Regions from separate parts of the Homo sapiens genome. Here region 1 is linked to region 2. The links are contacts of gene promoters, found by promoter capture Hi-C in blood cells and fetal thymus (Javierre and others, 2016). All regions are on one chromosome and are shown on one strand. The core of a region is centred on a gene start or on the middle of the fragment in contact, and the rest is flanking DNA. Distances in the headings are between cores, read along the strand shown. Region 1 holds the start of OTUD5 (OTU deubiquitinase 5). Region 2 holds the start of ZNF630 (zinc finger protein 630).

The links. Contacts are between HindIII fragments. The CHiCAGO score rates a contact against its expected background, and 5 or more counts as called.
Region 1: a contact is called between the fragment with the promoter of OTUD5 here and the fragment with the promoter of ZNF630 in region 2, in 1 of 17 cell types (naive B cells). The highest score is 5.8, in naive B cells.

Annotation. Positions count from the first base shown.
Region 1 is chrX:48,954,067-48,959,853 of GRCh38, forward strand. OTUD5 (OTU deubiquitinase 5) reads right to left here and starts at 3,541. Exons shown (of 9, transcript NM_001136157.2): 1 at 2,911-3,541. The coding sequence starts at 3,504. It also overlaps the pseudogene RNU6-722P. RefSeq lists silencers at 3,158-3,217, 3,588-3,637, 3,838-3,997 and an enhancer at 4,098-4,287. The HindIII fragment of the contact is 4,109 bases long and covers 2,216-5,787 here.
Region 2 is chrX:48,069,816-48,075,110 of GRCh38, forward strand. It overlaps ZNF630 (zinc finger protein 630), which reads right to left and starts at 1,825. Exons shown (of 5, transcript NM_001282201.2): 1 at 1,452-1,825. RefSeq lists an enhancer at 1,796-2,055 and a silencer at 1,967-2,163. The HindIII fragment of the contact is 4,069 bases long and covers 1-3,640 here.

The sequences.
Region 1 (5,787 bases), core at 2,291-4,790, 890 kb after region 2:
AGCCTCTCCTGTCATTGGGAAGGGCAGGTTTCATGAACCCACAAAACTTGATTTTCATATTCTTTTTTTTTTATTAGTAAAGATGAGGTCTCGCTATGTTGCCAAGCAGGTCTTGAACTCCAGGGCTCAAGTGATCCTCCCGCCTCAGCCTCCCGAGTAGCTGGGACTACAGGCATGCGCCACTATGCCCGGCTTACTCTTATGTTCTTATGGGGACAAGTATAAGGGAGGGACTGCAAGGGGCATAAGGAAGTGTTTTTGAGTTACCATGGCAGCATAGGATGTTCTTTCTCTCTGTCCCTGGGACCAGGGATGTATCGCAAGGGAGGGGAGTAAGGAGGTGTTTTTGAATTATCATGGCTGCATAGGATGTTTTTCCTCTGTCCCTAGGACCAGTGATGTATGGCTCCCTGCTTCTAGAGGAGGAAAGAAACTACCCAACCAGAGAGAGAAGAAATAACTGGTCCTGACCCTTGAGTACAAATGGCTTATCGTGCCAGAATTAATGATGGGAGGAAGGGACCAAGAACAAGGAGCTCAAGACAAGGCTTGGGGCCCCTGTGAAGTACAGAAAGATTTACCTGAGCCAAGGGGAAAAGGAATGTGGGAGGAGAATTTCCCCAGAGTGGCGATGTCCCAAACCCCTTTCCTGTCCCTGGGAAGAAAAAAGCTTGTCAAAAGCAGTTCAAAACTTATTATATGACCTAGAGGTGAGAAGCAAGCATAGCTAGGTCAGGGAGAGACTCGGAATCGCTCTTGGTTTCAGAAGGGAGGCTCCAGACTCCATGTCCCCAGGACCTGACAATCTTCTCATAGAAAGTAGGAGGACCTTCTTGGCCCTGGCCACGAGGGAGCTCTGGATAAGGGGTTCATATGACCCTGAAGAGCATCCAGGTCCTTCTGTCCAATGGGAGAGGATGACCTCACGTTCCTCTCCCTGGACAGAAAGGATTGCCTGGTGTGGTAGGAGGAGAGCCTCATGCCCAAGTGGGAGCCAGGCCCCCAGTCCCTAAGGCAAACGGTATCTTGTCCCAGAGAGAAAGCTTGGGCCCAGACTCTTTTCCTCAGAATCCTACCCTATTCATGTCCCCAAAAGGAGTTGGGAGTCTAAGGCCCAAGTCCCCGAGGCAGGAAGTCTTATGTCCCTAAATGACCCCTAAGACTAGGGTGTATGTAAGTTGTCTGAGGTGAGGTGACAGTACCCTCAGGGCAGGTTCAGAAATCAGGTCCTAAGGTGGGGAACAGGCCTTCACACACCTGAGTTATGATTCAAACCCTTGGAGGTAGACTCAGGACCCTGTTCCACAGGGATCCTTTATCCATGCCCCAAGGGAAGAGTCTCAGGGCTCAGGTCTGGGGGGAGGAGTCCTCCTGTTTCTCAGGTGTACATCTTAAGTTCCTTGAGGAGGAAGCTCAGACCTTACCTCTAGACACACAAGTCACCAAGGTATGTATGAGTCTCCTGTCCCTGAAGGAAAGCTCAAGTGTCCTTGGCAGAGTGGGTCTCAGGCCCTTAAAAGTAGGCAAAGATCTGTAGGGAGGCCCCAGACATCATCTCTGGGATCCCATGTTGCCCATGTCCCCTGAGTAGTCGTCTCAGGCTCAAGTTCCCAAGGCATGGGTCGTATGTCCCTGACAAAAAGCTTAGGCCCAAGGTGGGAGGGCCTCAAACCCCTGTTACAGAGGGGAAAATGGGATACTGTATCCCCAAGGTATGTTTCAGTTCCTTATAATTGGGGTAAAAGGGTCACATATGCTCGTGGGGTGGGGAGTCTCAGATCCCCAAAACCACTCAGACACCAGCCTTGAGAAGAAGGATCTCCTAAAGACTTCACCTTGTCTGAGACCTTTGCAGCAGGACACCAGGCCCCTGAAGAGGCCTCAGACTCGGTCTCTAAAAACCTCAGTCCATAAGCAGGTGGATCTTAGGCCCTAGGATCCAACGCTGTGAGTCTCATTTTCCTGAAGAAAGGTTCAGGCCCCTGGTGGGGGTGCTGAGGGCCCATCTCTTCTTACAAGAAGCTTAAGATCCTGAAGCGGTTCAGGCCCTTGTCTCCCAAGAGGTAGGTCTCAGGCCACTGATAGGAAATGCAGACCTTTGTCACTCAGAAAGGAGATAAGTAAAGCTGCTGGTCATTGGGTGTTGGTTTTGGTCCCTGTCCCCAAGGGCAAGGGAATCATATCTCCCTGTGAAAAGTCTTACATCCCTGGAAAAAGCTTAGAAGATCCCTATCCTTAAAGGGGGCGTGTGTGTGTGTGTGTGTGTCAGGACCTTGATTCTAGAAGCAGGACTCTCAGGCCCCTGAAGACAGACTTAGGACCCTTGAGGTCTCAGGTCTGGCTATTCAGTGGTCCTGTGCAGTGTTACCCAGCGAAGCGGGAGAGGATTGTCCTATATGCAGAGTGTCTCAGACTCTTGAAAGGGCTTAGGCTCCTTGGGGATGTTCAGCCCCGATCTCCGAGGTCTCCACCTTATTTGACTTTCCTGGAAGGGGAATCTCAAACTTCTATCCCAGAGGAAAAGAGCTCTTAAGCCACTGAACACATACCTAAGTCTCTTGGGAGACCTGAGACTCCTACTCAAGAGGGGCGCGATCCTACCTGTATCTCTTGGAGAATTCCCACCTATTGGCCCTATATGATGAGGTCCCAGGGACTGGAATGACGACTATAGACCTTAAAAGAGACCTCGGATCTTTAAGTCTGACACCTTACCGTAGGCCTCTAGCCCCAAAATCCTGGAGGGGAGGAAAGAAGGTGTCTCACATCCCTACCGCCAGAGAAGACTGTCAGGCCCAGTGAAAACGCCTAGATCCCTTGGGGCGATCTCAAACAGCCTTCCTTGAGTCCCTTCACAGTCTGGGGGTCCCATCTGCCGTGGCCGCTCACCCCTCACCCCACAGCTCTTACCTGCTCGACAGTGGCAGGGTCCATAGCCTCGATGCGTGCTGCAGCCGCCTCATACTCGTCCTCACTGTTGTAGCCTGCGCCGACCTCCTCACGCTCGGGACTGCCCCCGCCAACCGCGCCAACCCCGGGAGCTTGACGTCGCCGCTTGCTGTGCCCAGGCCCGGAGCAGCAGCCGCCCACGCCTACGGCACCACCCACACCCACCACCACGCCCGCGGCACCCACACCCGCCGCCGCTGCGCCCAGCGCGTCGCCGGGACCGCCGCCGGGACCACCTGGGCCCCCGCAAGGAGGTGGAGAAGCCTGTTGTGGCCGGGGACCCGCCACTGCACCAGGCGGCACGGCCAGCGCCCAGCGATGAAGAGCGCCCGGCGGTCCTGGTAGCGGGCCTTGAGGCGGTGGCGAAGCTCGCGGACGGGCCCCCACGACGCCGGAGTCACGGTCGCGATCGCCGCCGCCCACGCCCGTGCCGCCGCCGCCCACGCCCACACCTCCGCCGCGCCGCGGCGCCGGGGGCATCGGCCCGGGCGGCGGCGGCTCGTTGGCGGGGTCGGCGTCGGGAGGCGGCGGCTTCTTTTTGGGGAGTATAGTCATGGCTGCACTGCCGAGTACCCCCCAACAAACCCGGCGCGGGGCACGCCGGGAGAGAACCCGGATGAGGGGGCTAGTGTAGTGCGCGAGGCACGACGGGAACGGCGAGACCCGGATAAAGGGATCGCGGCACCGGTTCGAGAACCCTCGGCGGCGGAGGAGGCGGCGGCGGCGGCGGCGGCGGTGGCGGCGCGCGGGTCACGCCGAGAGGAGAACCCGGATGTAAAGTCCAAGATGAAGGCAGTGCGGCGAGTTTGTCTTAGCCTTCTCTCCAAGTCCAGCAAGTTTATTGCTACGCTTGTTCCGGCCTTCTGCTTCAAAGGAAACAGAACCAAAACAAGCACCTCTTCGCTCCGCCCCCTCGCAGGTTCTTGCACTACCGGGTGGGGCCCCGGGGCGCTGCGCACGCGCGCCAGGGCACAGCCCCGCCCCTTACTCGGAAGTACGTGGGCAAAATCGCCGCCGCCGCCGCCACAACAATTGCAACACCAACCAATTGAGCAGCTGCGTGGGACCTCGACGACGCCCACGGGCCAATCACAGGCGAGTGCTCGCCCTCCGGTGCCCTCCGTCTCAAATTTCAGTCAAAGTCGACACCCTGGTTCCCAGCCTTTCTCCCCGTCAGTTCCGTCTTGCTCTTCACTTTTCTCCCCGAAGCTCTGACCTGCAGGCGTCGGTACTGCGGACGGACAGCGTGGCCTGTCCCACGTACGACAGGAAAAACACCTCCCCTCCAGGATTCCAACTTGAACGCTGTCAGCCGGAATGACTGGAAAACATCAACACTCCCGGGAGCATAGCTGGCCCCTGTAGCGTCACTTCCGGTCCCACCCACCTACAAATACCCTTCCGGGGGAGGCGGACACCGCTTCGCCCCGGCAACAGCCTGAGTTCTGCGGTGATTGGTTAAGAGACGCCGTCACTCGCGGCATACCGACCAACCTTGGGACAGACAGGCGCCGTGGGGACAGTGGTTGTTTGGGAAACAGACACGCCTTCTCTGGCACCACAGCACTCTCGGCCTCGCGTTGACCTCCCCGCCCCTATGGCTAGTGCGCAGGCGCGGCCCAGCCTTTTTTTTTTTTTTTTTTTTTTTTTTTCCTAATTGAGACAGGGGTCTCACTCTGTCGCCCAGGTTGGAATGCAGTGGCGCGATCATAGCTCACTGCAAACTCCAACTCCCAGGTTCAAGCGATCCTCCCGCCTCAGCCTCCCGAATAGCTGGGACCACAGGCGCGCACCACTACGACCGGCTAATTTTTTTTTCACTTTTTTGTAGGGACAAAGTCTCACTATGTTGCCCAGGCTGATCTCCAGCTCCCGGGCTCAAGCGATCCTCCCGCCTCGGCTTCCCAGAGTGCTGGGATTACAGGCGTTAGTCACCGCGCCTGGCCAAGCCCAGCCTTTTTCTAAAACTGAGTTTGCTTGGGTCGATCGAGGTTTATGAAAGCTCTGTCACCAGTCAGCGTCTCAAAATGGGGTTGGCAGAATCCCTGCTATTGAGTAGCTGGAGAGCTACACGCTAATCCTAGCTCTGCCCTTCCTGTCTGAGTGATCTTTGTCAGTCATTTAAAACCCACCCCGTCCTCAATTTTTGTTGTTGTTGTTTACTTTTTTATAGAACGCTTCACGTATTTGCGTGTCATCCTTTCGCATAGTGCCATGCTAATCTCTGTATCGTTCTAATTTTAGTATATGTGGTGCGAAGTGAGCACCCATCCTTAATTTCTATTCTATAAATTGGCAATAATTCTAATCCGAGGATCAGAGATTAATGCTTGTGAAGGGCCTGGTGCTGTGCCCAGCACATAGGAAGTGTTCAATAAAGTAGTCTGCATGGTGGTGCAGTGGAAGGATCCCAGGCTTTGGAGCCAGAAAGACCTCAGTTCCAGGCACAGATGGACCATTACCAACTGTATGACCTTGAGCAAGTCATTGTGTCACTTTTGAGATTACCCATGTGTAAAACAGGAATGATAATACCTGCCCAGACTACCTCAGGGAATGGTTATGGGGTTCAGATGAGCTGATGAACCAAGAAGGTATTTGGAGTTCACTTCCAGTCTTAGGAGACAAACCATACAACAGGTTGACTGAAAGAGACCATGGGAAAGCTGTTTTGAGTATAGCCTTGCCTCCCTTGAGATACTAACCCTAGTTGAAATTCTTCCCTGAAAGGTGTAAGTAATAAATGGGCTCTAAGTAGTGTTTTCTGCTCATGAGACTTAATAGGAGGGGACTTTCACGTTTACCGGGCCTGTTGTGTTCAGGGCTCTGTGCCAAATG
Region 2 (5,295 bases), core at 575-3,074:
TCCTAAATTCCACAGGACATTGTCTGTTTTTTTTTTTTTTGTTTTTTGTTTTTTGTTTTTGAGATGGAGTCTCGCTCTGTCGCCCAGGCTGGAGTGCAGTGGCGCGATCTCGGCTCACTGCAAGCTCCGCCTCCCTGGTTCACTCCATTCTCCTGCCTCAGCCTCCCCAGTAGCTGGGACTACAGGAGCCCGCCACCACGCCCAGCTAATTTTTTTGTAATTTTAGTAGAGACGGGGTTTCACCGTGTTAGCCAGGATGGTCTCGATTTCCTGACCTCGTGATCCGGCCGCCTCGGCCTCCCAAAGTGCTGGGATTATAGGTGTGAGCCACCACGCCCAGCCGATATTGTCTGCTTTTTAACTGAAGAATGTGCTTTACAGTTCAAAATTAACTGAAAATCTTCATATTTAAAGCCATAAAATGAAAAGAGAAGCCAAAAGCTGGAAGGAGATATTTGCAAAACACATACCACTACTAAAGGAGTGGTATCAGAATATATAAAAACAATTCCTGGCCGGGCACGGTGGCTCACACCTGTAATCCCAGCACTTTGGGAGGCCGAGGTGGGTGTATCACCTGAGGTCAAGAGTTCGGGACCAGCCTGGCCAACATGGCGAAACCCTGTCTCTACTACAAATACAAAAAAATCAGCCAGGCGTGGTGGCAGGCGCCTGTAATTCCAGCTACTCGGGAGGCTGAGGTAGGATAATTGCTAGAACCCAGGAGGTGGAGGTTGCAGTGAACCATGATTTCTCCACTGCACTCCAGCCTGGGCGACAGAGTGAGACTTCGTCTAAAAAAAAAAAAAAAAAAAAAAATTCCTACAAATCATTAAGAAAAGGGCAGAGAGTCCAACAGAAAAATGAACAAAAGACAGGCCCCTCACAAAAGAAGATCTCCAAGTGATGAATCCATATAAGAAAATGTGCTCAAACTTATTGGTCATGAGGGAAATACAAATCAAACCACCAAGTTGGACTTCTCCATCGGAATGTGGACACCACAGGAGCAGAGATTTTTGTTCATTCATGCACATATGATTGATCTGAAAAAGCCACCCATCATGGACCCCACAGAATGTCAACACTGACCCCACACACACTCCCATTCTTGTCCTCATAGACCCTCATCCCTCACCCCAGATCCCCCTATCCACTCACCCCACGGATCAGCATCCCTCACCCTACAGACCACCCATCACTCACCCCAGACTCCCTTCACCCATCCCATAGAAGCCCCATCACTCACCCTTACAGACATCATCAAACACCGCACAGATCCCCCATCACCCCACAAACTCCCATTTGCATAACCCACATACTGTTACCCCTGGTCCCACAGGCTCCCCTATCACTGTTCTCCACGTCACTCAATCCCCTCCTCAGGCCCTCCACTTGTCTCCATCCGTCACTGATCACATAGACCCGCAGCACTCAGCCAGGCCCCTCACCCCGGCTCTGCTCTCAAGCCGGGCTTGGCTCCCCGCCTGCCCAAATGCGTTCAACATCCCCCGAAAGGCCATTTCCCTTCCAGTCTTCCCGGAGAGATGTCAGGGTGACGAGGGAGCTTATCTTTCGGTGGCTCCGAAACAGCCACGAAGCCGAGCTCTACCAGTAACAAAAATGGCGTCATTCCGCCAGCGCCAGGACCTCTGTCGCTGGCCGTGGTCTCGCACTGCTTCTGGAGGCTCCCATTCCAGCCAGAGGAGAGGTGCGTTTGGGGGCCCGGGGGAGTCCTCGTGATATCTCCGAGTTTGGGTATTCGGAATTGATCCTACGAAAGCAGTGTGAGGCTTGGAAGGGCCGCGACTTGTCCGGGTGAGTGGGCGTTCCCGGCCACCAGAAGAGGCACGGCCTGAGCAAAGGCGTGGCGACATGGCAGGGTGGGAAACGGGGAAAGTGGGAAGGCTGGACAGAGCACCCCCCGGGAGATTCCTCCGCAGAAGCGAATTCCTAAAACGTCTGGAGAAAGGGAAGAGACCTTTGACATCATGCAGCCTTTCAGGGGGCTCACACATACCCGCCCACTTCTCCCCACCTGGCCTCGGCGCCCTGCCGCCTTCCTATTGTTCCTGCTTGGCGTCAGGACCCGCCCCCATCTGTCACTCACTGCCCACCGGTCCTCCATTGGCTCCTTTGAACACGGAAGGGCCCACCTTCACCTGTCATTTACAGCCTGGACTTCTGCCTGCCCTAGTTCAAGTAGGCTTATATGGCCTTTTGCAGCCCGTATCAAAACTAAAAGAGTTCATAGAGTCAGAGGTTCGAGGTAAAACCTAAGGGACATTGGTTTTAGACGACTTAACAAAGGGCTGGATTGGAAGTCAGCCCGGAACAGGATTGCAGAGTTAACAAAGGTTCATGTTCGATACAAAACGGGAACTCTGATGGTTACAATAGTTAAGAAAGTCCTAGGATTCAAGACCTCTATCAGGGTGTATGGATGGAGAAAACATTAACAAATATCCTGCTTGAAGATCAAATCAGAGGGGCACTGGTGGTGCAATAGTAACCCAATTCCAAAGTTATTTCAGAGAGGCCTTAAATGGAAGGTTAACTTAGACCCAAATCTGAGCCAAGACCAGAGACCCATTAAAGTCACGTGATGTGGTTAACAGAGCCCCGGAATTCACAGCCTATACCAAAGGGGTAATGATGGTGGAAGAATTAATCAAGGTCTGACTTCAAAGTCAAACCAAATGGCATTCATGATAAAAATGTTAACTGAGGGCTGGGCACAGTGGCTAACACTTGCAATCTCAGAACTTTGGGAGGCCAAGGCGGGAGGATCACTTGAGGCCAGGAGTTAGAGACCAGCCTGGCCAACATGGCAAAACCCTATCTCTACTAAAAATACAAAATTTAGCCAGATGTGGTGGCACATGCCTGTAGTCTCAGCTGCTTGGGAGGCTGAGGCATGAGAATCGCTTGAACCTGGGAGGTGGAGGTTGCAGTGGGCCAAGACTGTGACACTGCACTCCAACCTGGGGGAGAGACAAAACTCTGTCTCAAAAAATAAAAATAAGAAAAAAATGTTAACTGAGGGCCGGGCACAGTGGCTGACACCTGTAATCCCAGGACTTTGGGAGGCTGAGGCGGGAGGATCATGTGAGCCCAGGAGATCAAGACCAGTCTGGGCAACATAGTGAGACTCCATCTCTATAAAAATAAATGTTAACTGAGGATTGGGGTTGGTGGATACAGGAGAAGGGGCACAAGTAGCTAAAAAGTTAGTACAGCCTTGATTTTCTGTACATACCAAAGGATCATAGATGGAGAGGACTCAACTGAGGCCTGCAGTCAGTGTAAAGATCTGAGGGATGCAGAGCGTAGTGGCTCACTCCTATAATCCCAGCATTTTGGGAGGTGGAGGCAGGCAGATCACTTGAAGCCAGGACTCAGCATAGCCAACTTGGCGAAAACCTGTCTCTACTAAAAATACGAAAATTACCCAGACGTGGTGGTGCATGCCTGTAATTCCAGCTGCTTGGGTGGCCGAAGCATGAGAATCACTAGAACCTGGGAGGTGGAGGTTGCAGTGAGCAAGAACTGAGGGGCAGTAATGGGGAAAGAGTTAACAGACATGCAAAAAGATTCACATGTAAATTGCCCTGGTGATGGAAAAGTGAACAGAAACTCAAGCTTAACACATAGACCCAGGATTATTAATTTTCCACCCTCAAAGCCCTGAATTCTCTCTCTAGATCCAAACCCATTAATAGTGGAATGGATAACAGATTCCCCAGTTCAAGGTAAAATTAAGGGTTGATTTAGGTTGGAAGAGTTAATAGAAGCCCAGGTTGGAGAGCACAGATAAGAGACTTTGATGGTGGAATTGCTAACAACAGCTGGGGTTTGAGGTGAGGTCAGAGGGATAGGGATGGTGGAAGAGTTAAGAAGGACATGGTTTGAGTATAGACCAGACGGGCCATCAATGATGGAATATTTCAAAGATGCCTGTATTCATTTCCTGTTGTTGCTATAGCAAATTATCACAGACTTACTTGCTCAAAACAACACAAATTTATTATCTTACAGTCCTACATGTCAGAAATATGATATGGGTTTCACTGGGCACTCCCTACAGAGGCTTAGGAGAAACTCTGTTTATTTGCTTTACCTAGCTTCTGCTAGAAGTCACCTGTATTCCTTGACTCATGGTCCCTTCCTCCATCTTCAAAGCTGACAGTGTAGCATCTTCACATTGCTCTCTGACGGTAACCTGCTTCCATCATCACGTCTCCTTTTCTAACTCAAACCCTTCTCCTTCCCTGTTTTATATATATATGGAGAGAGAGAGAGAGAGAGAGAGAGAGAGAGACAGACAGACAGGATCTTGCTCTGTCACCCAGGCTGGAGTGCTGTGGTGTGATCAGACACTGTAACCTTTAACTTCGGGGCTCAAGCGATCCTCTCACCTCCGCCTCTGGAGTAGCTAGGACTACAGGCACATGCCACCACGCCCAGCTAATTTTTTTACTTTTCTTTTTTTTTTTTAGACAGAGTCTCACTCTGTCGCCCAGGCTGGAGTGCAGTGGCGCAATCTCGGCTCACTGCAAGCTCTGCCTCCTGGGTTCACGCCATTCTCCTGCCTCAGCCTCCAGAGTAGCTAGGACTACAGGTGCCCGCCTCAACGCCCGGCTAATTTTTTGTATTTTTAGTAGAGACAGGGTTTCACCATGTTAGCCAGGATGGTCTTGATCTCCTGACCTCCTGATCTGCCTGCCTCAGCCTCCCAAAGTGCTGGGATTACAGGCGTGAACCACCACGCCTGGCCATTTTTTAACTTTTGGTAGAGACAGGGTCTTGCTAGGTTGCCCAGGCTGGACTCCAATTCCTGGCCTCAAGCAATCCTCCCAACTCAGCCTCCCAGAGCGCTCCCTCCCTCTATGAAGGAGGACCCTTGATTACATTGGGCCCATCTAGATAATGTAAGGACCCTTGATTACATTGGGCCCATCTAGATAATCCAGGAAAATCTCATCTTAAAATTCTTAATCACATCTGCAAAGTTCCTTTTGCTTTGTAAGGTAACATATTCACAGGTTCTAGGGGTTGGGAGAGGGATATCTCTGGGGGGACTATTAATCTGTCTACCACAATGCCCAATGTTTAAGTCAAACCAGAGGGCCAATGGGGGCGGAAGATTTGATTGAAGCATAGGGTATTAACAAGAGAAAACGATCAATGGTTTGAATCAGATTTAAGTTCACATAGGATGGGCCTAGATGAGGGGTCCAGGCTGTTACGTCAGAATTGCATCAAGGGCCTGAGTTCAAAGTTAAAGGAAATTCA